Regions from separate parts of the Homo sapiens genome. Here all the other regions are linked to region 1. The links are contacts of gene promoters, found by promoter capture Hi-C in blood cells and fetal thymus (Javierre and others, 2016). All regions are on one chromosome and are shown on one strand. Each heading gives the region's core, a stretch centred on a gene start or on the middle of the fragment in contact. The rest is flanking DNA. Distances are from core to core; before and after follow the strand shown.

Region 1 (3,144 bases), core at 387-2,886:
ATTTCACCTGTTACAGACTCAGAAGGCAAGACCTAAAAGGTGTACTCTGCTGGGGCTGTCCTGGGGACAGACTGGTCTCTCCTCTCACTGCCAAAAACACCTATCACCAAGAAGCCAGGATTTCACTCTCCCATTTATGCTATTCAGTAAGGGCGCCTCCTGTCACAAAGTACAATTCTAGATTCACCCTGGGAATGGAGTCATTTAGCTTACACCACAGCCCGCGGGTAGGTGAGTCGCCACAGCCGGCTCAGTAACCCCATCCCAGTCAGGGCCACAAGGCTCAAGTTGATGTCAGCCGTCACCACTACAGGGCGCTTCAAAAATCCCCACATCTTGTAGAAAAGCGGGCTCAGGCAGACGCCCTAGAAAAGAAGGGAGGAGCCGTGGTCCATGAGGGCTCACGAGAGGCTACAGAAGGGATCCCCAGCCACCCGGCTCCCGGACACACGAGGAGAACCACAGCACAGCCGGGCTGCTGAGAAAGACCGAAGTTCCTGGAGCCTTGGTTCAGGTAGACATGTGGGGTGAGGGGCACTAGCAGTGAACTCGGGTGGGAATTCAGGGGATCTCAGGACTGGACATTCACTCCTTTCAACAACTCATTCCACAAAACCTGCCGAGCACGTCTTGGGCGCGAGAACACTGCTAAGGAACGCCAGGGTTTCTCCCCTCCCTCCCCGACGACCAGAAGCCCACAGTGCGGCCACAGCTACCTGACCCTGGGCAGCTCCTGGGTGCCATCTCAGCTGCTTACAGCCCAGGGACCCCAACCTGGCCGAGCCTCGGGGCCTCCTCATCTCTCCTCAAGGATGCATCTGCCCCCAGTGCCTCCCTGCCTTCTATCCCAGCGGCACATCATCCCCGGGTGCTCCCTTTCTCGCCTGGAGGGTGCATTTGCACCCTGCGCCCCCACGTTCTCCTCCAGGCTTCATCTTCCCTTGAGCTCCGCTTCTCTTGAGGCTGCATCAGGCCTGGGACACCCTGTCTCACACCAAAGCCGCATCTGGCCGTTGGCGCCCCGCTGGTCTCCTCAGGCCCCATCTACCCTGGACGCGCCCTTCCCTCCCTGAGCTGCATCTGCCTTGAGCGCCTTCGTCCCAAAAGGTCCCATCTGTCCTGGGAGTGCCTCCTCTCCCCTTGCAGACCGCATCTCCCTGGCCGGCCCTTCTTCCCCACAGGCCGCACCTGTCCCGTCCACCAACTCCCGAGGCTGCGTCGGCCCCAGCTCCGTCCTCACCCTGAGACTGCACCCGCAGCACGCCCTTCCTCCCTAGGGCTGCACGCGCCACGGAGTTCTTACTTCGGGGCTCGGCCGCCCGAACGCCGCATCTGCCCGGGCCCGAACCCCGCCCCCAGCTCCGGAAAGACGGGGACGCCCCCGGCCCCAGCCCGTCCGCAAGCCAGGGACCCGCGTCCGGCACTGACGGACTCCCCCAAGTCCGGGCTGGGCTCTCGTCCCCGGTGTCCCCAAATGTACCCGCGTTTCTCCGAGTCCACACAGAGCCGCGCCCGGCTCCCGGCAACGCCTCGGAACCGTCCGACTGGGCCGACGGTTGGGGGTGAGGCCGCTCGGCACTCCGCACCACCCACCGCCCTGCTCAACGTTCGATTCACCGAGCCTGCGGGGCCAGACGGGCAGCAGCGCGCGTGCGCACTGGGAGAGGGTGACGCGCGTGCGCAGCGGGCGAGGGCGCCGGTCCCGGAGGAGAGGCAGGTGTGAAACGCGGCGACCTCCCCTCTCTCGGGTGCTACTGTTTTGTGTGCCAGGATTTCTGTGTACTCTAAGCAGACGTGCAGATTTTAAAAAGCGCAGTGGGCTCCCACCCATCTTCTGCTCCTTGCTTTTTCACTCCATCTGGCGTGAAGATCTTAATTCTGCGTCTGCACAACGGCGTTCTGCCGGGCGCGCCAGTTTGCTCCTAGTTTTTTTCTTTTCTTTTCTTTTCTTTTTTTTTGAGACGGAGTTTCGCTCTTGTTGCCCAGGCTGGAGTGCAATGGCGCGATCTCGGCTCACCGCAACCTCCGCTTCCCGGGTTCAAGCGATTCTCCTGCCTCAGCCTCCCGAGTAGCTGAGATTGAAGGCGCACGCCACCACGCCCGGTTAATTTTTGTATTTGTAGTAGAGACAGGGTTTCACCATGTTGGCCAGGCTGGTCTCGAACTCCTGACCTGAAGTGATCCGCCCACCTCGGCCTCCCAAAGTGCTGGGATTACAGGCGTGAGCCACTGCGTCCGACCTTAATTTTTTTTTTAAGACACGGGGTCTCGCTCTGTCGCCCAGGCTGGAGTACAGTGGCAGGACCACGGCTTGCTGCAGCCTCGACCTCTCTGCCCGAAGCGATCCTCCCTCCTCGGCCTCCAGAGCAGCTGAGACCACAGGCACGTGCCCCCACGCCCGCGGGCGCTCCTAGTTTCCTTGCCGAAAAACATCGATGCCACGATCCTGCTTGCACATACATCTAGCGGTGAAGTGGCTGAGGGTAAGGGCATTTAAAACGGACCTAGGGCCGGGGGCGGTGGCTCACGCCTGTAACCCCAGCACTTTGGGTGGCCGAGGTGGGAGGATCCGTGAGCCCGCTTGAGTCCAGGAGAGCCTGGGCAACACAGCGAGACCCCGTCTCTACAAAAAAATACAAAAATTAGCGGGGCCCCTTGGCGTCTGCCTGCAGTCCCAGCTACAAGGGAGGCTGAGGCAGGAGATCACTTGGGGCAGAGAGGTCGAGGCTGCAGTGAGCCTTGGTCTCACCACTGCACTCCAGCCTGGACTACAAAGTGAGACCGTCTCAAAACAAAAAACAAAACCAAAAAAACCTGGACATCAGTGGGGGCTGCATGACCATCAGAGGCTCCAGTGGGGGCATCTCCCCTAAACTCCGTGGCAGAAGACTGGAGGCTTCTTCCTCCATTCCCAGGGCTCCTCCTCATCCATCAGCCTCTCCAGCCCCCTCTGCTGAGGGTCAAGAGCCTTCCCAAAGGCCTGCTTTGGAGCAGACATGGTACTTTTGGTTGGGTCAATGCACCCCTTCCCATGTTTTCCCTGAACAGTCGGCACCCAGAGCAGGGTAACTGACAGCAACGCAACCAGGCTGATGGATCACTCTTCTCAGCCTCGCTCCTTCTTGATCTCCTGGTCTATTTGTA
Region 2 (3,144 bases), core at 310-2,809, 370 kb after region 1:
ACATAAGACAAGGAGAACAGAGAAGGTTTCCAAATACCAAGAAATCACTGGCCGGGCACAGTGGCTCATGCCTGTAATCCCAGCACTTTGGGAGGATGAGACGGACGGATCACTTGAGGTCAGAAGTTCAAGACCAGCCTGGCCAACATGGTGAAACCCCGTCTCTACTAAAATATACAAAAATTAGCTGGGCATGGTGGCAGGCACCTGTAATCCCAACTACTCTGGAGTCTGAGGCAAGAGAATTGCTTGAACCCAGCAGGTGGAGGTTGCAGTGAGCTGAGATCGCGCCACTGCACTCCAGCCTGGGCGACAGAGCAAGACTCTGTCTCAAAAAAAAAACAAAAAAAAAAAAACAAAACCAGAAATCATTCTCCTGCTCCCATTTAATATTTAAAATGCTTTTCCGCCCAAAGGTACAAATGACTTTCAGAGTACCACCGTTACAGATCCAGAAACAATTATTCCCAAAAAACACTTCTAAACCAGCTGTACCAAAATATTTCTCCAGAAATCCCAAGTACATTCAGGTTAAATTATGTATGCTGTTTGGCTTCAAGGACATTAACTATGGGTATAAAGAATACTCTCAGCCGGGCACAGTGCCTCACACCTGTAATCCTAGCATATGCGGGGTGGAGGAGGGCAGATCACTTGAGGTCAGGAGTTCAAGACCAGCCTGGCCAACATGGTGAAACCTTGTCTCTACAAAAAATACAAAAATTAGCTGGGCATGGTGGCGCATGTCTATAATCCCAGCTATTTGGGTGGCCGAGGCACGAGAATTGCTTGAACCCAGGAGGTGGAGGTTGCAGTGGCTGAGATGATGCCACTGTACTCCAGCCTGGGCGACACAGTGAGACTGTCTCAAAAAAGAATACCTTCCATCCTTAACCTCCCTCGTCATGAAAAAAAAAACCAAAACACAAAAAGCTATCCACTTTCACTTCTAGAAATCAATTCTTAAGTAGATGACCATGATTGTATGCTACAGTGTGAAAGCCTTTATTACTCACCAGAGGTTACTGCTACCGTGGAAGGAAGAGTTGCACATACTTTCACTGTTTCCGTGACTTGCAGGACAGCAATACTACCATCAGCCAGACAAACTGCCACCATGGAGGGGACAGTGGGGTTCCACTTCATATCAATCACCATGCCTCCTGCATCTTTCAAAAGCTTATGATAGGCAAATGGGCGTTTTTGCTGTTTAGCCTTTTAAAACAAATATGCAAAAGTGAAATAAGTTAACAAATAGTAAATGCAGAAACATTTAATATTCAATGGAAATTACTGAATACACAAGGTATCTCAAATCAGTTTATTTTTCTCCATAACCATAAAAAAAGATTGTTTTATGCATCAATCTATTTGCTATAGACAATTTCAACACAACTTTGAAAATGGCAATCAATTATTCTAACATGCTTAGGGGGACTCTCAGAAGGGGAATGCACAATTGCAAAATAACCAATAAATAGCAGACAATAGATTAAAATCTTGGCTCTGCTTCTTAATAATGTTGGGACCTTGGACAGTTACTTAAACTCTGAGCCTGTTTCTCTACCTATAAAATGAAGATAATAGTACCTACTACATAAGGCTGTGGTAGGCATGAACGAGGGACAAGGCATATAAAGCACTTAGTACAGAGTCTAACACACACAGTCAGTATAAACACTCACTATTATTATCATTCTTAAACTGCTTGGAATGGAAGAACATCCAAAATGTAGGAACTTTTGACATTATGTATTCATCTATGACTTTGGGCAAGTCACCTAAGCCTCCTGATAACAACTTAGGGCAGATGGCGTTATGAAAGAATTTCTTGAAGTCCCTTCTGTCTCAAAGATCTATGATTCTATAATTAAGGATTTTTTTTTAACCCATATTTTAATCTAGAGAGAAACTTCAAGGGTTAACCTATGAAGCTTCCAAGTTGTAATTCAATACAAGGAAATCTGCTTAGGGTTCTCATGTTGACATCACAGTATAACAGTAGCTTACCTCATTTGAGAATGTGCGAACATCAAAAAAAGCAATAATGGAACCATATTCACTGGACATCATGCACGCAGAGAGTGTGAGGTTATCACAGCTCAAGGCCAGGTGATGGATTGGGAATTTCATAGGAACTAGCAAGCCTTGGACTTTATCAACTATGAAAACAAAAAAATACAAAGCAGAAAACGGTATGTTCTAAGCATAAAGCCACAACCTCTATCCAGTTCGATGTGAAAAAATTTTTGCATCTACATAAACACACATACACCCCAATACCTAGTTATACAGATAAATCTTAACTTTCTTAAAGATATATAATGATGGATTAAGTATCCCTGGAATTCTTCCTCATACAATCTGGGGAAACTAACTGTGGCTGCTGCCCTTGTTGAAAATATTTTTGCAACAATGCTCTAAATAGTACACCTTGCCAATAGTTTGGATCATACTGTTGTGCCAACTGAAAACCCATGCCAATAAAACCCTTCACCCAGAGAGCCAGAGCCCAAGTTCAACTGAGCAAAAATAAAAGCATGGCATAATGGTTAAGTTCTTCCCTGTTGAGCTGAGAGGAACAACTCATGTAAGGAGAAATACAAAGGACCAAGGAGAAAACCTAGAAAGGCTTCCATTAATCTTCTTGGGAGTCAACCTTCAAACTGACAGCAGTGTTCATTTTAGTATTAGAATGACTTCTTGGGAAGGAAACACAAGAGCATGCCACCATACTCCTCTCTCTACTTTGCAACATAAACCAGGGAACTTACCTATTTTGTTGGGATCATCTCCGGGTTTATTTTGAATAAGAAGATTTTTAGTAGGAAAAATCTGCAAGCCACTGGCTCCACCAGCGAAGACCAGACCATATTTGTTGGACACAGCAAGCAGACTCGAGCGTTCCTTGGGCAATTCCTCAGGGGAGTCAAAGATTCTCACCTTCTTTAGCGCTCTAAACTGAAAATCCTGTTGTGAAGAATCAAAACGAGATCAATTCAATAAAGAAAGAAATTAAAACATGTTATATTCAGTAGACCCAATTTCAGTACAACAAAAATATGTATTACTGAGACCAAGGTCTGTCTCAATTGTCTTTTTTTCTTTTTTGAGATGGAGTCTCGCTCTGTCGTCCAGGCTGGA
Region 3 (3,144 bases), core at 256-2,755, 340 kb after region 1:
GCACAAGCAGGTGCCTGTTGACAACAATGAGAAAAGAATTAAACATGAATGGTTCAAGTAAAGGAATCTCCCAGTAAAAAAACAAACAAGACTACAATGGTAACAGTGAAAATGATAAAATGGAGAACCAGCACTGGACAAGAACCATTAAGAAATTACTAGAAAATAAAAAGGAGATGAAAGCCTAATGAAGATAAAATGGAATGTGGAGAAAACAGCTGGAAACAGGCAGGCCAGTCCTGTAGCAAAGGACAGCATACATTAGGTGAAACCTGAGAGAGGCCCTGGGAAGAAAAGGGCAGGAGTGAGGTGTGAGTCAGGAACCAGGAAAAAGCCAGTCAGCTTTCTACTTAGAATTTATCTGTTTTTCTGAATGTAAATTATATTCAATTAAAAAAAAAAGGTTCACTGGAAGTCTATGGGAGTCAGTTAATTCTTCAGACTATTGTCAAGAAATAGGGGGACAGCATAAGATTTAGCATCAGGAAGGTAACCTGCCCAAAAGAACTAAAACAAGACAGAGACAACAGTAGCTGCCTCTGGGAAGTAGGTCTGACTGTAGAGGGCGACAGGTCTATTTGCTTCCGCTTTTCAGTAGAAATCTTTAAGTAGCTTTGAAATTTTTTTCTGACTGCATTAATTTGCAGAGGGGATAGGAAAAATCATACATATAAAAACATAAGGAATAATCCCACATCAGTTATAAACCAAATTTTCTTTGCTATGGTATGTCAATACAGTCATGTGCCACATAACGACATTTTGGTCAATGATGGACTGCATATACAACGATGATCCTATAAGATTACAGTAGAGCTGAATTCCTATTGCCTAGTGATTTGTGTTACAATTGTCTATAGTAGTCAGTACAAAACCATGCTGTACAGCAGGGGTGTCTAATCTTTTGCTTCCCTGGGCCACACTGGAGGAAGAATTGTCTTGGGCCACACATAAAATATACTAATGCTGGCTGATAAGCTTAAAAAAAAAATCAAAAAAATCTCAGAATGTTTTAAGAAAGTTTACGAATTTGTGTTGGATTGCATTCAAAGCTGTCCTGGGCCACATGAAGCCTGCAGGCCGTGGGTTGGACAAGCTTGCTGTATGGTACTGTGGTCTAGGAGCAACAGGCTATACACCATAAGCGCCTAGGTGTGTAATAGGTGATGTCATCTAGGTAATAAGTACACATAGTGTAAGCACATTCTGTGATGATCATATAATGACAAAATCGCCTAACAATGAAATTCTCAGAACGCACGTTAAGCAACAAGTGACTCTATGTATATTTTGCCTCAACACAAATCATGGAATGAAAAATGCTTGCTAAACAGAAACCTCTGGATTTATTTCCCTTTTTCCCATTACCTCTTTGAGTTCAGGGCTGACTTGAATGACTGCCTCTGGTAACAAGGTAGTTCAACATATAATTTTTAAAAGGCATTTCAGGCCAGGCGCGGTGGCTCACGCCTGTAATCCCAGCACTCTGGGAGGGCGAGGTGGGTGGATCACGAGGTCAGGAGTTGGAGACCAGCCTAACCAACATGGTGAAACCCCATCTCTACTAAAAATACAAAAATTAGCCAGGTGTGGTGGCACGCACCTGTAATCCCAGCTACTCAAGGAGGCTGAGGCAGGAGAATCGCCTGAACCCCGGAGGCGGAGGTTGCAGTGAGCCGAGATCGCGCCACTGCACTCCAATATGGGTGACACAGCGAGACTTAGTCTCAAAAAAAAAAAAAAAAGGCATTTCAATAGGGTTCAAGGTAATATTCAGGGATGGCCCTGAAACAGAGAAGTGCTATCAAAATAGAAAATTGTACAGATTTAAGAATTTGAACTCTGCAGAAAGAGAACTCAGAAAAGCATAAGTAGTAAATCCACAGAATTGTTACAAAGGAAAAAAAAGCTTGGCTTCTCTTTAAGCATCATGCACTTTCTTACAAGGCTAACTTGTTAATTACCAAAAAGAAATACAACCATTGAGCAGAGCAGAATGTACCCACTGTAAGGTTAGACCATTGTTTCCCTTGTGGGAAAGCAAACCATATGGTTAAACATGAATCAGAACCAGGTGTGTGAGCTAGTTCTCTAATGGGGCCCCACTGCCCATGGAGACAAGTGCTCCAGTCCACAGGCCACAGAATTCTCCCCTTAGATAGTGGCGGAGGAGAGCTTCTCACTTCTATCTCCCTATACCTATCTATGCTGCAAGCTGAGGGTCCTCCAGTTGGGATTTTTAGCCTTTCTCCACATAACACAATGTAATTTATTGAATTGTGCTTACTAAATTATAAGCATATTATAGTCCTGTCCCTGATATCACACCCAGGTTGTCCCACTGAAAAGTACATCAAATAGACCATTTCTTGGTTTGTTTTCATACAGGGCTAGCTAATCATTAATCAAGTGTAGGTGTTTCAGAAATCTAACATTTCATGGCTGATTCATTTTTCAAATTTCTAATGGGCACTTCATGCTCTCATGGTGCATGACATTCTACTCCTTGTGGAAAATATGTGGCTTAAAACCAAATATCTAGGGATAAAAAACTATGCTAAAAGGTTTTCCCATTACTTTGCCATCATTTCTCTCATCTTTTTAATTATCCACACTAATTACAAATGTTTTCTAAAAAAGAAAATTTGAAATATACAGAAGAGTATTACGGAAAATTCTCCTTAATCCCGTTTTGCAGATATAACTACGAATATTTTGTTACATCTATTTACTTTTGTACCTCCACATTCTTATTAGCCAATATGCTTTTGTCTTTTTACTTATTAAATTTTTATATTACATCTAATAATTATAGCGAAATAGTTATATATTCATACATTTTGTAGAACATAGAATATGTATTCAATATATTAAATAATTTATTGGAGAACATGCTAGTCAATGGTTACAGGGTATTCTGTAGTTAAGAAAAAAAGCGACCATATTTATTTAGCCACTCCTGTACCTTTAGATAATTAGGCTGAATCCAATTTTTCACTATCATAAATTATACTGCAATATAAATTATTTTATGTAAATTACTGAGTATCATTTGTTGTTTCTATAGAAAAATATTTCAAGTAGAATGACTGTTAAAAAGAATGAACGTTTTGTAGAGATTTTCTCTTTCTTGTTTTTTTTTTT
Region 4 (3,144 bases), core at 257-2,756, 320 kb after region 1:
CATTTCAGGCACCATGCTGGGCATACACATGAAATAATTATACCAGAGTCTAATTCTGTGGAGAATGGAACAGAAAGTTTCTTCAAGATTTCTTAAGTTGTCTGAGATTTTTTGTCAGAAAGAGTAGACTCAAAATTACTCCTTGAACAAACCCTTCATCAAAGATCAGCTCAGATGAACCATTTAGGGAAATGAAGCTTGAGAAAAGGAGAAGTGGAATCTCCAAAAGGTGCTTCTCATACATGGTTAGCACCTAATATATCTCAGAAACACTAGACAATACTTCCTGTACCATATGCTGAGTTTTCCCATCTTATGTAACATTCTGCCTTGCCTTCCCTATGCTGGGAATCTGGCTACAATTCCCAAACTCTAATGCATAGTTCTTTCCCTTGAAAAGCTTGCAACAACCACAAATACCATCTTGGTCTAAACAGCATACCAAGGCTCCGAGGTCACTACAAAATAGTAATAGAGAAGGCTTGTTTTTTGGCTGTTAGTATGGCCCTGAGATAACTAAAAATTCCTCAAACAAGCAGTGTTGATAAACAGAACAACATGGAAAAAAAGAGGCCAGCGGACCAGTGAGGCAGGGCCACTTGAGAGAGGGAAAACAGAACCGTGGGCAGATCTGCTCTGTGCAATGGCAGAGGGTGGGCACGCTGTGGAGAACCACAAGGTCTATGGCTGCCCTTCTTGCTGCTAGACTAATCATGGGTACCAGACACTAACTCCCTGAAATCTGATACTAGTCCTCAAGATCCCCATGTTCCAAGTGAGGAAATGTCCCTCAACTCTTCCCTTTGCCACAGGGGATGGTGGTTGGTCTAAAGGGATCACAGTCACAAAATATGCAGGGCAAAGCAGGGCACAGGCATGTTCTGCGAACCTGCCCAGGGCAGCGGGAGGGAGTCAGCACCCTGAATTCCGAACACAGATGAGGACTAAAGACAAATGAGCTAGGCTGGGCACAGTGGCTCCTGCCTATAATCACAGCACTTTGTGAGGATGAGGTGAGAGGATCACTTGAGCCCAGAAATTTGAGACCAGCCTGGGGTGACATGGCAAAAACTCCATCTCTACAAAAAATTAAAAAATTAGCTGGGTGTGGTGTCATGTGCCTGTAGTCCCAGCAGCTACTTGGGAGGCAGATATGGGAGCATGGCTTGGGCCCAGAAGGTTAAGGCTACAGTGTGCCATGATCGTACTGCACTCTGCACTCCAGTCTGGGCAAGAGTGAGACCTTGTCTAAGAAAAAACAAAAAACAAAAAACAACAACAACAACAACAACAAAACCACCACCACCACCAAAAAAACAAGTGAGCTCCACCAGCAACAATCCAGCCCTCAAACATGGCATGGCAGAGAAGCTAAAGTCTCCAAACAGAGGTGCTGTCTTTTATACAAAAGCAAAAGAAATGGGAAGAACAGAAATGCCTGGAGAAGGGAAGTGAGGGAGGAGAGTGTCACCCTTGAGATTACAGTTTCCAGAATCAAGTCTGCATGAGACCCAAAGCATCAACTCTGGAACCCCTAGGGCATTAAAAAAAAAAAAAAAATCAACCTGCACACCTAATGTGTACCACACAGAGACTTACACATGGCAAACAGAAACTGAGCATACAGCATCAAGACAAACTTTAAAAGTTTGTGAGGCAACTGTCACCGGCCAGTTAAAAAGGACAGTCTCCTGAAAATGCATTGTGTAGGCAGGCTTAGCCGCCACCCCCCTTATAACCTAAGGCGGTGCAGGAAAACCAGACTGTGACAGTGGCACTGCTGCTCCCTGCAGGCAGTCCACCGCTACTACAGAAGCAGCCAGGGGCTGAAACACACTGCAGTCAGAACATACCCCATGGCTGTAGAAGGGGTTGCAGGGTTATTCTTCAATTCCTGCACATTTACCACTTGAGGGACATTCTTCAACGTTGATTCAGTCAAAGTGTTTACAGCTAATTTAAACAGAGAAGAGAGAACACCATATTAATTCCAGCAAAGGATAAAAAGTTCTAGCCACATATAAATGAAAAACCAAGACATGAGCCCAAGCAGATTAGAGCCTTATCATGTGAAGGAAATCTACTCTAGGTAGTTCTTGCAGCATTGTGTTCAAAGGAACACCTGGCCTACTCCATTAACACAGGTGATGGAACAAGGCTTCCTGTAACTGAATCGAATGTACTAGAGTAGGGGAAAAGAATTCTCTGGCCAGCTTTTCTACACAGAGCTGAGACACCTGCCACACTGCTGGTCTGTCCTGGAAAAGGGCAGCTTGAGCTAGAGGATTAACAGCATCTAGACTCAGGATTTCTGCCACTCATTCACTGTCTTTCTTTAACATGGGCTTATTATGTGCCAGGCTCTGTGTTAGGGGCTGCGAATACAAAATGTATCTATAGTTTCTTCTCTAAAGAAACTCATGGCCTAGTGAGACAGAAAGGCATAATGAATAAAATGTGGAAAATGGAGCTTGGACAATAATGGGAGAAGAGACTAAGAGGCATATATCTGACACCTCCTCATCAGCTTTCGTCTTATAATTGTAAATTGTATCCCAAAAGACTTAATGACATTCTATAATTAGCAATTAAGGAAGCCTGAGCAAAGCTTGTGGCTCATTACTAACTGCATCACTGGCCAAGGTGAAAGTGGTTATCACAAGCAGAATGACAGACCTGTAGTTAATTCTCTTTTATTCCCTCTTTCAAAGAAGTGACCAGAACATCTTGCCCACGACTGCACATCTTTCATATTTCATATTCAAAGGTGCCTATACCTTAGAAATTTTTGCATCCAACATGATAATACAGATCACACCACCTTCTGCTGAGTGGAACAATCCTCAATCCTAATAGATTTTAACGTTTTACAGATCATTGACTTGATCAACTTGATTTCAGGCCTGTTCAGCACAATGGCAAGATTCTACCTGGTCCAAGTAATATTTAAAGAGATCAAAGAATTCTATTTTTAGAAAGCCCAAAGGTACCTCAAAAGTTATCTTTGTTTTGTTCTTCAATATATATGTTAGATGTCTTAATAAAGGTTTTAATATTTGAATTTTTCTTTACAATCTTTTGACTTATCACTGTTTAATGTTAGTTCTTTTTTCCTAAATCAAACTATTATGTCTTTTTAGTCTT
Region 5 (3,144 bases), core at 353-2,852, 300 kb after region 1:
AAATAAATAAATTTGACTGACTGAGACAGGGTTCTCACTTTGTCACCCAGGCCAGAGTGCAGTGATAGGAACATAGCTCACTGCAGCAGCCTTGACCTCCCGAGCTCAAGTGATCCTCCCACCTCAGCCTCCTTAGTAGTTGGGACTACAGGCATGCACTGCCACGCCCAGCCAACTTGTGGGTCTTTTTTTTTGTAGAGATGGAATTTTGCCATGTTGCCCAGGCTAGTCTCAAACTCCTGAGCTCAAGCAATCTGCCCATCCCAGCCTCCCAAAGTGCTGGGATCACAGGTGTGTGTGCCACTGCGCCCAGCCTTAGCATATGGTTTTCAAAGTTTATCTATATGTAGCATGAATGAGAACTTCATTCCTTTTTATTATTTATTTTTTTGAGATGGAGTCTCACTCTGTCGCCCAGGCTGGAGTGCAGTGGCGTGATCTCGGCTCACTGCAACCTCCGCCTCCTGGGTTCAAGCGATTCTCCTGCCTCAGCCTCCCAAGTAGCTGGGACTACCGGCGAGCTTCACCATGCCCAGCTAATTTTTGTTTTTAGTAGAGACGGTGTGTCACCATGTTGGCCAGGATGGTCTCCATCTCTTGACTCATGATATGCCTGCCTCAGCCTCCCAAAGTGCTGGGATTAAAGGTGTGAGCCACCATGCCCAGCCGAGAACTTCATTCCTTTTGTTTTTGTTTTGTTTTGTTCTGAGACGGAGTCTCGCTCTGTCGCCCAGGCTGGAGTGCAGTGGCGCGATCTCGGCTCACTGCAAGCTCTGCCTCCTGGGTTCATGCCATTCTCCTGCCTCAGCCTCCCGAGTAGCTGGGACTACAGGCACCCGCCACCACGCCTGGATAATTTTTTGTATTTTTAATAGAGACAGGGTTTCACTGTGTTAGCCAGGATGGTCTCGATCTCCTGACCTCGTGATCCGCCCGCCTCAGCCTCCCAAAGTGCTGGGATTACAGGCGTGAGCCACTGCACCCGGCCAAGAACTTCACTCCTTTTTATGGCTGAAAAATATCCCATGGAATGTATATACCACATTTTGTTTATCCATTCATCTGCTGTTTGACACTTGGGTTGTTTCCACCTTTTGGCTACTGTGAATAATGCTGCAATGAACATTGATGTACAAGTATTTGTTCGAATCCCTTTTTTTCAATTCCTTTGGGTATTCTACCCCAGAGCAGAATTGCTGGGTCATATGGTAGAAGTACTATATTTAGCTTTTTGAGAAACCACCAAACTATAGTAGCTGCACAATTTTGCATTCCCATCAGCAATGTATGAGGGTTCTAATTTCTTTGTATCATTGCTAACACTGGTTATTTTTATTTTTTACTTTTTAAATGATAGCCATCCTAGGGGGTGTGAAGTGGTATCTTATCTAATTGTGGTTTTGATTTTCATTTCCCTCATTAGTTTAATGCTACTTGATCACCTTTTCATGTAATTACTGGTCATTTATTTTGCTTGCCCCCATCACTGCCAACAGCTCCTTCTCCAGCCAGTACATTTTCTCAGTCTTTGGCAAGTCCTCTCTACTACCTGCTCAAACCCAGACCTGGCATCTGCCCCCAGCAGCTGCTGTGCCACAGTGCTCACACCTATGATGGGCTCCACTCTCTGGAAACCAGTTCAACAAGGCTTTCTGCCACTCTTCAATGGTCCCATTATGACAGATATTTTCCAAAGATGATCACAGCAATACTTCTAGTCACATATGCTCTTCTAGAGCAAGAGGCGGCCTCTGTATCTCCTCTTGAACCTGGATGGGACTTTGTGAGTGCCTTGATGAAGAGGATGCAGCCTAAGTGATGTTCTGTGACTTCTGAGGATAGGTCATAAAAGGTTATACAGCTTCAGCATGGCTCTTCCTCTTTCTTGGAATGTTCCTCCTTGGAACCTAGCCACCACGTTGTGAGGAAGCCCAGGCTACATAGGCCAAATGTAGGTGTTCAGCTAACAGCTCCAGCTAAGGTCTGAGCCAACAGCCAAGCCAACCACTGACATCAGAGTGAGCCTTCAGATGACTCCTGCCTCCAGTCTTCCCTTCTTCCAGCTGAGATCACAGATACTGTGAAGACAAGCCATCCCTACTAAGTCCATCTGAAGTTATGACCTACAGAATCCAAGACTATAATAAATAAGTAGCTGTTGCAGGCTACTAGGTTTTGAGGCAATTTGTTATACAGCAGTAAATAATTCCAATACTGCCAGAGTAAGTGTGACTTCTACATCATCTGGATTTTTCTTGGTGTTATTATGGCAGTGAAGGTTTTCTATATTCTTTTACATCCTAGCCAGAATCTGCCTAGCATCTTTAGAGTTTTCTGAGGATACTTCTGCTACCTGAAAGTTCATTCATTTCCACAATGCCTATCATGTGCCAGACATAGTCCTAAGCATTGGAGATACAGCAATCAATAAAAACAATAAGGCCCCTGCCATCATAGAAAAAACCTTGATTTCAATCTTTGGCCCTTCCAATTGCATACATAATTTCCGTGGTGGAAGAATACGGAGTGGAAGGGGAAGTAACAATATGGAGTTTATCACAGTGATGTTTTCTATTTCTTTGGCTCAACATTGTGCTTGTTAGTTATACATGGAGCTGAAATCTGCTCCTTTTCATAGCTGGATAATATTCTACTATGAGACCAGGTATGGTGTCTCATGCCTGTAATCTCATCAGCACTTTGGGAGGTCCAGGTGGGAGGATCACTTGGGCCAGGAGTTACAGACCAGCCTAGACAATACGGTGAGACCCCATCTCTACAAAAAACTGAAAAAATTAGTTGGGCGTGGTGGTGCACCTGTGGACCTAGCTATTCTGGAGAACTGATAGGAGGACTGCTTGAGCCCAGGAGATCAAGGCTGCAGTTACCTGTGACTGTGCCACTGCACTCCACCCTGGGTGACAGAGTGAGATCCTGTCTCAAAAAAAAAGAAAAGAGGGTTGGGCACAGTGGCTCATGTCTCTAATCTCAGCACTTTGGGAGGCCGAGGCAGGCAGATTGCTTAAGCCCAGGAGTTCAAGACCAGCCTGGGCAACATGTGAAACCCCGTCTCTACAAAAAAATACAAAAAATTAGCCAGGCACAGTGTGTGCACCTGTAGTCTCAGCTACTTGGGTAGCTAAG

What was found. The method cuts DNA at HindIII sites, captures the fragments that hold promoters and counts their contacts. A CHiCAGO score of 5 or more calls a contact.
Region 2: a fragment that was not itself captured here is called in contact with the fragment with the promoter of POMT1 in region 1 in 6 of 17 cell types (non-activated CD4 T cells, total CD4 T cells, naive CD4 T cells and 3 more); the score reaches 7.5 in non-activated CD4 T cells.
Region 3: a contact is called between a fragment that was not itself captured here and the fragment with the promoter of POMT1 in region 1, in 1 of 17 cell types (non-activated CD4 T cells). The highest score is 6.6, in non-activated CD4 T cells.
Region 4: a fragment that was not itself captured here is called in contact with the fragment with the promoter of POMT1 in region 1 in 2 of 17 cell types (non-activated CD4 T cells and activated CD4 T cells); the score reaches 7.9 in non-activated CD4 T cells.
Region 5: a contact is called between a fragment that was not itself captured here and the fragment with the promoter of POMT1 in region 1, in 1 of 17 cell types (non-activated CD4 T cells). The highest score is 5.5, in non-activated CD4 T cells.

Annotation. Positions count from the first base shown.
Region 1 is chr9:131,501,410-131,504,553 of GRCh38, reverse strand. POMT1 (protein O-mannosyltransferase 1) reads right to left here and starts at 1,636. Exons shown (of 20, transcript NM_001077365.2): 1 at 1,481-1,636; 2 at 214-365. The coding sequence starts at 335. RefSeq lists enhancers at 46-115, 126-205, 686-745, 117-982, 983-1,850 and silencers at 1,316-1,465, 1,536-1,735. The HindIII fragment of the contact is 12,581 bases long and covers 1-3,144 here.
Region 2 is chr9:131,127,350-131,130,493 of GRCh38, reverse strand. It overlaps NUP214 (nucleoporin 214), which reads right to left. Exons shown (of 36, transcript NM_005085.4): 2 at 2,775-2,970; 3 at 2,011-2,162; 4 at 1,017-1,215. Among named protein-coding and RNA genes, the nearest start is that of NUP214, 3.3 kb to the right of the region's middle. The HindIII fragment of the contact is 755 bases long and covers 1,182-1,936 here.
Region 3 is chr9:131,159,861-131,163,004 of GRCh38, reverse strand. NUP214 (nucleoporin 214) reads right to left here. Exons shown (of 36, transcript NM_005085.4): 19 at 1-14. Among named protein-coding and RNA genes, the nearest start is that of NUP214, 36 kb to the right of the region's middle. The HindIII fragment of the contact is 813 bases long and covers 1,099-1,911 here.
Region 4 is chr9:131,177,120-131,180,263 of GRCh38, reverse strand. It overlaps NUP214 (nucleoporin 214), which reads right to left. Exons shown (of 36, transcript NM_005085.4): 24 at 1,854-1,953. Among named protein-coding and RNA genes, the nearest start is that of NUP214, 53 kb to the right of the region's middle. The HindIII fragment of the contact is 2,208 bases long and covers 403-2,610 here.
Region 5 is chr9:131,206,260-131,209,403 of GRCh38, reverse strand. The region is part of intron 30 of NUP214 (nucleoporin 214); the gene reads right to left. Among named protein-coding and RNA genes, the nearest start is that of FAM78A, 69 kb to the left of the region's middle. The HindIII fragment of the contact is 5,048 bases long and covers 1-3,144 here.